3 separate regions of the Homo sapiens genome follow, and regions 1 and 3 are each linked to region 2. Evidence: promoter capture Hi-C in 16 types of primary human blood cells and fetal thymus (Javierre and others, 2016). All regions are on one chromosome and are shown on one strand. Each heading gives the region's core, a stretch centred on a gene start or on the middle of the fragment in contact. The rest is flanking DNA. Distances are from core to core; before and after follow the strand shown. Region 1 has its middle 46 kb from the start of FAM136A. Region 2 holds the start of ATP6V1B1-AS1 (ATP6V1B1 antisense RNA 1). Region 3 has its middle 19 kb from the start of FAM136A.

Region 1 (3,132 bases), core at 332-2,831, 600 kb after region 2:
CTGGAAATTTCAGCAGAAATTGATGTTGCAGTCTTGAATCCTGAGGTAGTCTGGAAGCAGAATTCCTTCCTCTCACAGAGACGGCCATCTTTTCTCTGAGGCCACCCACAGTATGGAGAATAATCTGCTTTCCTCAATATCTCCTGATTTCAGTGTTAACCTAATATGAAAAAATACCTTCCTAGCAACATCTAGATCACTGTTTGAGCCAATAACTGGGTACCATAGCCCAGCCAGGTTGACACTTTAAATTAACTACCACGTTCTCCATGTTTTTAGGTCTTCTTTGATGTCTTCCATAAAGGTTTTGCATATCTGCTTGTTAGACTTATTACTGGATTCATAGTTTTTGTTGCTGTTGGAAATAGTATACATATATTTCTAACTTTATATTGAGGTATAGCATTCATATGGCAAAGTGCACAAATCACAAATGTCCAACTTGATGAATTTTTGCAAACCTAACACATCCATAAAACTAGCAAACAGAAACACAGAACCTTACTAACATCCCAGAAGCCCACTTGTACCTTCCTCCAGTAGCTGTTCACCACCTTTCCCCCTCATCAAGAGTAACTGCCCTGACTTCTAACACCATGATTGGTTTTCCCTGGTTTGGGATTTGATATAAATCATAGAAAATGTGCTTTTTTTTTTAAAGCTGATCTCTTAACATTCTGTTTGATATTTTTTCATATTGGATGCAGTTGTTGGTTCGTTCTCACTGCTGTTTTGAATTCCATTGATTACACCAGTCTTCTGTCAGTTTATCCATTCTACCATTGGTGGGCATTTGGGAAGCTGTTTGGGGCTAATGCAAATGGTGTTACTCTGAATATGTTTTTGGTGAACATAAAGATATAGGAAATGATTGTACATATCATTTGGTGAAAGTAGAATATAGGAAATGATGTATTTTTAATTATAATTCTGTTATTTAAGATGTTTAGGACCACTACTGAGTTTTCTAAGTCAATCTTAATTTGTCATCTGAAGACTTTTTTGGAACATATATGTAGAGAGTCGTAACACCTGGGCAATATTTCCAAGCTTTGCTGTGGCATTTGACATTCGTCCCAGGTCACCAGAGAGGCAAAAGCACCACCGCCCAGAAAGGACTCCTTCTGATAGAGGAAAAACCCTTTAAACTCCTTTGTCCTCTGGCTGGCAGCTCTCTTTGACTCAAGGCAATCTTATGAAGAGGGAGTTCTAGTCAAATAGACATAACAATTCCTACACCTGTGTCCCAACCACACACTCTTCACCTTCTGAATTTGGCCTTTGTGGTAGGCAGAATAAGACTTTCCAAAAATGTCCATGTCCTAATCCTCAGAACCTGTGAATATGTTATCGTACCTGGTAAAAGGGACTTTGTGGACGTGAATAAATTAAGGATTTTGAGATGGGGAGGTTATCCTGGATTATCTGGGTGGGCCCAAAATAATCATAAGGTTCTTTATAAGACAAAGGCAGGAAGGTCAGAGTCATAGAAGAACATGTGATTATGGAAGCAGAAGTCATATTGGCAGATGCTACCTTTGCTGGCTTTGACAATGGAGGAAGGGAGCATGGGCCAAGGAATGCAGGTGGCCTCCAGCAGCTGTAAAAACAAGGAAAAAGATCCCCTAGAGCCTCCAGAAGGAATCAGCCCTTTTGTCCCTTGACATTAGCCCAGTGAGATTGATTTTAGACTTCTGATCTTCAGAACTGTAAGATAATAAATTTGTGTTGTTTTAAACTACTAAATTTACAGTAATTTATTATAGCAGCAATACAGACTTCATCCCCAGCTCCCCTGCCCCCAGGTAACTGGAGAGGGTGATTTCCTGCTTCCTGCAGAGCACCACTCCCAACCCCACCCCTGGTCCTCACTGCAGGACTTGGTAGATGAACAGGGCTCTCTACTAACTTTCTTTCACATATAGATGCACCTTGATTTACAATGGGGTTACATCCTGATAAACCCACCATAAGTTGAAAGTACTAAAAATCCAAAATGCATTGAATATGCCTAACCTACTGAACATCAGAGCTTAGCCTAGTCTACCTTAAAAGTCCTCAGAACACTTACATTACTCTACAGTTGAGCAAATCATTGAACACAAAGCTTATTTTATAATAGTGTTAAATATCTCATGTAATTTATTGAATACTATACTGAAGTTGGAAAACAGAATGGTTGTGTTAAACTAAACTAAAACTTAAAGCCCTTGGCATAAGCATTCTAGGATTTACAGTAGCAGTGGAACTTAATCTTATGACTAATAATCTCAAACTTGAATCCCCTTCACACACATATAAATTCTTCAACATATTAGGTTTCTTCCCATTACAATACACCACATGATATCATATTCAAACCTCACTGCAACCAAAATATAACATCTCTTCTATTAGACTTAATTGCAATAGAAAAAACAATATCAACAAATGTAGCCCAATTCCAAAAACTCAAAGTACAGTTTCTGCTGAATGTGTATCACTTTTGTACCATCTAAAGTCAAAAAATCCTAAATCAAACAATCCTAAGTCAGGGACCATCCACACAGTCTTCAAGAGGTCCCTGGTACAGGCAGGGCTGCCTGTCTCTCTTCTCTGTTCCCATGCTGGGGCCTCCCTGGTTGTTCCCTGCCCTCCCTCAGGTGCTGTCAGTCCACAGAGAGAAGAGAAGCCATGTTCAGAGGCATGGCCAGGTTCTAACAAAAGGGGAAGCCAGTAGCAGTGCCCAGGCTCAAAACCTTCCTCTAAAATCTCATCAGCACCCCCTCACCACCACCCCACACAAGCCACCTCCTAAAACACTCGGTGCAAAACCCTGCAATTGCAGCTTCAAGACAAGTTCCCTAACTCTGTTCCACTCTCTTCCAGCTGGATTGCATCCCCTAAATCCAGTGATCCAGAAATTCTGGAGCCTCCACCAGGAAGAGAGAGCATAGGGTTGGATAACAGGGCAGGTCCCAGGCATTGTTTTGATTCTTGTTCTAAAGGGGCTTGGGCCCTCAGAACAAACTGGAAAACCCACCACCTTTTCATACCAGAGCATATCCCTGGTTTGCTTGAGAAGGACTCTCTAATGGCAGAGTTTTAGAGCCTCTAGGGGGAAAGGGTGAAGGTTGCATAATTGCTTACAAA
Region 2 (3,276 bases), core at 720-3,219:
AGAGGCAACGGAGAAAACCATCCCATCTGCAATAGGGCCAAAACTCATAAAATAGCTAGAAATAAATATAACAAGAAAGGTACAAAAAAAAATTATGGAATAACATAAAACAAGTCCTAAACAATGAAGAACATTATTGTCTTAATGTTCTTAGTTACTAGCATAAAAACATTAATCCTTTTGAAAAGTATATAAATTTGATCCAACCCTAATGGATTATTGTTTATTTTAAAATTTAATAAAATTATTTTAAAGTTCACATAAATGTCTGAGAATAGCCAAAGTAGTTATGAAAAAGATCAGAGATAGAGGACTTGCCTTTTCAGATATTAAAACTTGTTATAAAGCTACTGAAGTCAAGCAGTAAATTGATATGAGGTAGACAAATGGATCAGTAGGAAAGAAAAAAAGTCCAGAAGGAGATCCCAGATTTTATAGGACTATTATAGAACAAATGTTGTATATTAATTAATTCTCAGAGGGGAAATAATATATAGAACATAAGAGGATATCTAGTTAGAAGATAACCACATCATAAACCCAAATACATTCCAGGCATGTAAAAAAAATTTAAATATAAAGTAAAAACAATTTTTAAAAAATACTGGAAGAGCTTTTCTTCTTTCCTATCTTTCTGAATAATCCAATTAAAAGACAGATGAGCAATGTCTTTAAGCAAGACAAGAAATTCAGAAGGTATAAACAAAAAATATTTGATCATATGAGTATTTCAAACTTCTGTATGGCAGAGACACAATAGATGAAATCTTTGTTTCATTTATTGTTGCAAAAGATAGCCTGTGAGCAATAAACAAGGAGCTCCCGTATGCACAACTTGCTTGGTAGGAAGATTTCACGGAGAAGGAAGCAAAATCAAAATGGTAAACATATGGACAGACACTCAACTTTCCTAGTTATCAGAGAAATGTAAATAAAAGCGAGACAGTACTAGTTTTCATTTATTAGATAGGTAAAACTACAGAGAGAACATATTCAGGGCCAGCAAGGATGTGGGGAAGTGGGTCCTCTCATACCTGGTTGGTGGAAATGTGAATTACCACAACCCTTCTGGGCAAGCCATCTTGCCCCAAATTGTCAATATCTAATTTGAAATAAAAAAGTACTTGAACCAGCAATTCCACTTCTGGGAATCTATCCTATAACCACAAAAGCGTCCGTTTAAAAGGGATACAATATTGTACTATTTGTAATGGCAAAACCTGAGAACATACGAATGTCTGTCAATAATGGGACTATTGAGTAAGTTACAGTACATCCATACTATCGCCTGCTATGCCAGTATCCAAAAGAATGCGTAAAATGTGTATCCGCTGACACTGTCAGTGGATCCACTGTCAGTCCCTTGGCTCTCAAGGGACTGACCCCGAGGTCAACCTCTAACATATTTGCCTGTGTTTGAGCGTATTCAGCAGGGTCTTTCGGGGCTGAGAATAAAGCGGTTAGGGGCAGATAGTTAACTTTACGTGTCTTTCCTCTTTTTCACTAAGTTACAAGGAGCATGTATTATTTTTGCAATTAAAATATAATACATTTTTAGGACATGTTACAGCACAGTGCTGGTGATTATCATCATCATTACTATCGTTATATCACCTACTGGCCACAAACTAGTGACCTTAAGGGCTTGCGGGTTGGGGCGGAGGGTCCAATTCCCCAGCAAGGTGTGACCAAGTAGGGACCACTCCGCCAGGGAACCCCTGCTGGTCGAACTTGAGACTAGGTTTGCAGCCCTGACAATCACACGGAAGGGAGCGCTACCTTGAGTCCTCCCTTGTCCTGTGAAGAGGATGCCAGGAAGGTGACCTGTGGTTCCCCAAACCACCCCTCAGCCTTGCGGAGTGGGGGCTTCAGCACTAGGCCGGCCGGGGAGGAGGGCTCCGAGGTGGGAGGAGCTCCGAACACCCAGGCGTCTTGGGTTCTCAACCACAAGAGGGAGCCCAGGAGCACGGACAGCGAGGGCCTGGGAAACGCGTGGAACACACGTCCCGGCTCGTTTTCCTCTCCCACTCTGATAACCTGTGTTTCGATACGAAACGGGCCCTGCCTCATTATTTGTCATCTCCCTGGAGGTGACGGAGGGCTGTTTCAACCTCAGGGGAAAAGTTGCTGTACAGAACACAGGCCAGAGTGTGCCCCAAAGAAATCAGGCGGTGGAGTGATTTAAAAGTGATCATTTTCTGTAGTCCTAGCTACTCGGGAGGCTGAGGCAGGAAAATCGCTTGAACCCGGGAGAAGAAGGATGCAGTGAGCAGAGATCGTGCCATTGCACTTCAGCCTGGCGACAGAGCAAGACTCCGTCTCAAAAAGAAAAAAAAAAAGTGATCATTTTCATGTGAGTTTATGTGGGTGAGAGAGGGAGGGTGGCAGGAGAGGAGAGTGGAGAGGAGAGTGGTGCGTTCTGTGTCCCTGAAGGACAAAATCAGAGAAAATGAACTTTAAATGGCAGAAATTGTGGTCAGATCTGGGGAAGGGCCATCAGGTTTTCACACTCAGGCATGGAGGGTGTAGTGTCTGGAACCTTTAGGAAGAGCCCCAGGCTCTAAGTGTGTGCTGGATGTTCGTCGTTATTGTTGTTGGTGGTGGGATCTCATGACCAGTTATGGCAGTGGGTACCTGGGAGAATTCCCGTGGGGGATAGCTAGTCCAGGAGCTTGTATCTTAAGGGGCCCTATTTCCCAGCCGCATACTGAGCAGGCCTGATCCCATCAACTCGGTTGATGTCGGTTACTAAGAGGGCTGCAGGAAGAGGGCATGACTCAGTGCAATGTAACCCCGTGCTGGAGATTCAACTGAGCTCTCAACCAGCAAGTGGCCAGGCACAGGGGAGCTGCTGTCTACACACGGAGGACTGGAAGTTCTTAGCAAGCCTGTCGGGATTTGTGCACAGGAATGCTGCCTCTAAGGTCCCTCCTGCTGACAATGGCCAGGGCAGTGCGGAGGCTCCTCTTTGGAAATTGTCTTCAGAGCTGATGCAGACTCTTTTGAAAGCAGCCACAGACATTGGGGATGGAGTCTGGTGGTTAAGGTGAGTGCTTACTCCAATTCTCAAACAGGGACCAATTTGAATCACAGACTACAGGAGTCAGAAGATTCTCTAGAACAGAGGTTCTCCGTGTGGTCCCCATACCAGCAGCATCACCTAGGAACTTGATAGAAATGTACATTCTTGGGCCTCCTACCCCAGGCATGCTGAATCAGAGCTCTGGGGTGGGGCCTAGCAATCTGCCTGTTAACAAGCCCCCTGCACCCCTGATA
Region 3 (3,458 bases), core at 522-3,021, 630 kb after region 2:
CCAAAAACCACTCCAACTGCCCTGGAGTCCTTTGGTTTGGCCAAAGCCAGCTCTGTCTCTGCTCTGTCTTTGATTTGATGAGTTACACCAATAAATTCCTTTATTAATTTCACTTAGTCAGTGTTGGATTTATTAAACCTGGGACTCATCTTTTTCCTTGAAGGCCTAAAAGAACTTCAGCATGTTTTTATCTTGGATTCATTTATCCTGATACTGATGCTGCAATCCCTGATTTCTTTGGGTCTGCCTTTGCAAGGCTGCCCTCTTATTTGTAGCCTTTCTGGGTTGCTTTTGTTTTGAGTGTCTCTTAACAATGGCTGTACTTTGCTGCACACACACCAGCGGGATATGTTCCTGGTGAAAAGTGCATGTGTACTTCCAGAGCCTTAGCTGGTTTGTGTCCTACCTGAGTAGCCAATTAAACTCACCCTGCCCCACACACATGACTCTGTAACACAAGGCTCTCTGGCCGTCTACCACCTCTGGTATTTTCATCATCATAGCACTCAGGGTTTCCATGCCCTGACTCAACTTCCTTCTGTTTCTGTCTCAAGCTTTTCCACCATGCCCACCAGAATTAGTTTTGAGTGTAATAAATGCCCCCATACTGCCAACCTTTCTACTAAGGTTTCCTTCACCTCCTTGTCTTAACTGAAACCTAGATTTTCCCATAAGATCCCCACTTCTAAAACATTAAGTACTATGGAAACCACTACCACATTTCATTTCAAAGTGTTCTTTCCTTTTTATTTCATCTTCCTTCCTCTTTATGTACTCCATTAGGCAGATCCATCTTCATTTCTATTATCTCATTATCTTTTTTTTCCATTTCCTAGAAACTATGTTTTCTTGACTTTAAAGAACAAGGCAAGCCTCCTCACACCTGTGATCCCACCACTTTGGGAGGCCAAGATGGGTGGATCACCCAAAGTCAGGAGTTCAAGACCAGCCTGGCCAACGTGGCAAAACCCCATCTCTACTGAAAATAACAAAAATTAGCCAGGCATGGTGGCACACACCTATAATCCCAGCTACTTGGGAGGTTGAGGCCAGAGAATCGCTTAAACCTGGAAGGTGGAGGTTGCAGTGAGCAGAGATGGTGCCACTGCTCTCCAGCCTGGGTGACAGAACAAGACTCTGTCTCAAAAAAAAAAAAAAAGAAAAAAAGAAAAAAGAACAATGCAATGCAAGCCTGGACAACGAGGTGAGACCCTGTCTCTACAAAAAAATTAAAAATTAGCTGAGCATAGTGGTATGTGTCTGTAGTCCTAGCTACTAGGGAGGCTGTGCCTGGAGGATCACTTGAGCCCAGGAGTTTAAGGTTATCGTGAGCTTTTTTTTTTTTTTTTAAGAGACAGGGTCTCACTCTGTTGCCCAGGCTTCAGTGCAGTGGCACAATCATAGCTCACTGCAGCCTCAAGCTCCTGGGCTCAAGTGATCCTTCTGCCTCAACCTCCCAAAGTGCTGAGGATTACAGAGATGAGCCACTGAACCCAGCCTACAGTGAGCTATGATCACCTAGTGGCTCTTTAGCCCTTCTTAACATCCATAACAAATCTCACAACCTCCACTGTGTCTGCTGCCACAGTCAAGATGTTACGCAAGCAGCCCTCAGCCACCCGCCACCTCTTGCCTTCCTCTCTACCTCCCTCATCCAGCCGGATTACATCAGCTAACAACTCTTGGATCTGTGAAGAACTTTGCTGACACTCTAAACTGCTCCTCAAAAACTACTAAGAGATGGGGCATGGTGGCTCACGCCTGTAATCCCAGCACTTTGCAGGCTGAGGCAGGCAGATCACTTGAGGACGGGAGTTCGAGACCAGCCTAGCCAACATGGTGAAACCTCGTCTCTACTAAAAATACAAAAATTGGCCAGGCGCGGTGGCTCACACCTGTAATCCCAGCACTTCGGGAGGCCGAGGCGGGCAGATCACGAGGTCAGGAGATCGAGACCATCCTGACCACAGTGAAACCCCATCTCTACTAAAAATACAAAAAAGTAGGTGGGCGTGGTGGCGGGCGCCTGTAGTCCCAGCTACTCAGGAGGCTGAGGCAGGAGAATGGCGTGAACCCGGGAGGCAGAGCTTGCACTGAGCCGAGACTGCGCCACGGCACTCCAGCCTGGGCGACAGAGCAAGACCCCATCTCAAAAAACAAAACAAAACAAAAAATTAGCCGGACATGGTGGCAGTTGCCTGTAATCCCTGCTACTAGGGAGGCTGAGGCATGAGAATCACTTGAACCCGGGAGGTGGAGGTTGCAGTGAGCCTAGATCGTGCCACTGCACTCCAGCCTGGGTGACAGAGTGTGCCCTGTCTCAAAAAAAAAAAAAAAAAGTTACTAAGAGCTTGCTGCTTTGTTACTGCCCCCTGAGTCCCCACTGCCCTTGAATCCCACTGGCCTACAAGGGACACTTGTCAAGAAGCAGGAAGGCATGGTGGTTACAGGTATGGCCTCTGGAGCCAGACAGCCTGGGTTTGAATCCTGGCTTTACTACTTGCAAACACATGACCTTGTGTAAGGTGCTTAACTTTTCTGTTTCCTCATCTGTAAAATGCAGACAATAATAATAATACCATAGGATTAGAATGAGGATTTGAAGACATATTTCCAAAGCACCTAGAATAATGCCCGGCACATCGTAAGCCAGACGTTTGTAAATAAATAAATGAGACTCTGTGTACCAACGGAGCTATTTCCCCTATGTCCAGCATTGATCATGACATCCCCAGTCTTCTCCATTCATTTTCCTTTTAATTTTTTATTTTGAAATATTTTCGAGCACACAGGAAAGTAAACACAGAGACTAATACAGCCAATGCCTATGTGCTTATCAGGCAGACTAATTTTTAAAACATTTGTGTAGCAGAGAGAGAAATATGTGTATTTGTGTGTACATGTGTATTATTCTAAGATATAGAGACAGAGTTCTGCCTGAGGAGAAATGAGTTCTTTTACTTAACTTGAATATAAAAGTGAAGCTTCTAGGACTTGGGCTGGACAGGTGAAAGGAAAACACACAAAGAAGCCTGGGAGACTGGATCCAGAAAGGAAGATACGATAAGGGTGGAGGAAAGAAAGGCCAAACCTCATAGTGAGTAGAATGTTCTTCTCCACAGAAGCAGGAATCGCTGAGGCCTTTCTGAACCACACAATCCTATGTTCAAGTTAAAGCTGTTTGCTGTGCCGTGATGCTGTATGACTTCTCTTGTTGCCTCAAACTTTCCATCAACAACCGCCACTCACACTCGCTCCATTGAGTGTGCGGTACTGAGAGGGCATGAAGCAACCAGGGAAGTACCTAGTGTAGGTTGACAAGGTCCAAAAATGGAATAGCACATATGGGAGATGAGATGCCACCCTGCAACCGGCAGCAGCCCGCCGGGAAACCAACCCCTTCATCCACAATAAACAAGCTAGGAGACCAGACCACTACAAATCAGACTTGCAGCAAG

The links. The method cuts DNA at HindIII sites, captures the fragments that hold promoters and counts their contacts. A CHiCAGO score of 5 or more calls a contact.
Region 1: a fragment that was not itself captured here is called in contact with the fragment with the promoter of ATP6V1B1-AS1 in region 2 in 4 of 17 cell types (M2 macrophages, M0 macrophages, M1 macrophages and 1 more); the score reaches 8.0 in M2 macrophages.
Region 3: a fragment that was not itself captured here is called in contact with the fragment with the promoter of ATP6V1B1-AS1 in region 2 in 16 of 17 cell types (M2 macrophages, M1 macrophages, M0 macrophages and 13 more); the score reaches 14.9 in M2 macrophages.

The regions. Positions count from the first base shown.
Region 1 is chr2:70,346,461-70,349,592 of GRCh38, reverse strand. It overlaps the pseudogene BRD7P6. Among named protein-coding and RNA genes, the nearest start is that of FAM136A, 46 kb to the right of the region's middle. The HindIII fragment of the contact is 1,057 bases long and covers 1,053-2,109 here.
Region 2 is chr2:70,947,304-70,950,579 of GRCh38, reverse strand. It overlaps ATP6V1B1-AS1 (ATP6V1B1 antisense RNA 1), which reads left to right and starts at 1,969. Exons shown (of 2, transcript NR_110274.1): 1 at 1,969-2,353. The region is part of intron 2 of ATP6V1B1 (ATPase H+ transporting V1 subunit B1); the gene reads right to left. The HindIII fragment of the contact is 10,354 bases long and covers 1-3,276 here.
Region 3 is chr2:70,319,735-70,323,192 of GRCh38, reverse strand. No RefSeq gene overlaps it. Among named protein-coding and RNA genes, the nearest start is that of FAM136A, 19 kb to the right of the region's middle. The HindIII fragment of the contact is 2,430 bases long and covers 557-2,986 here.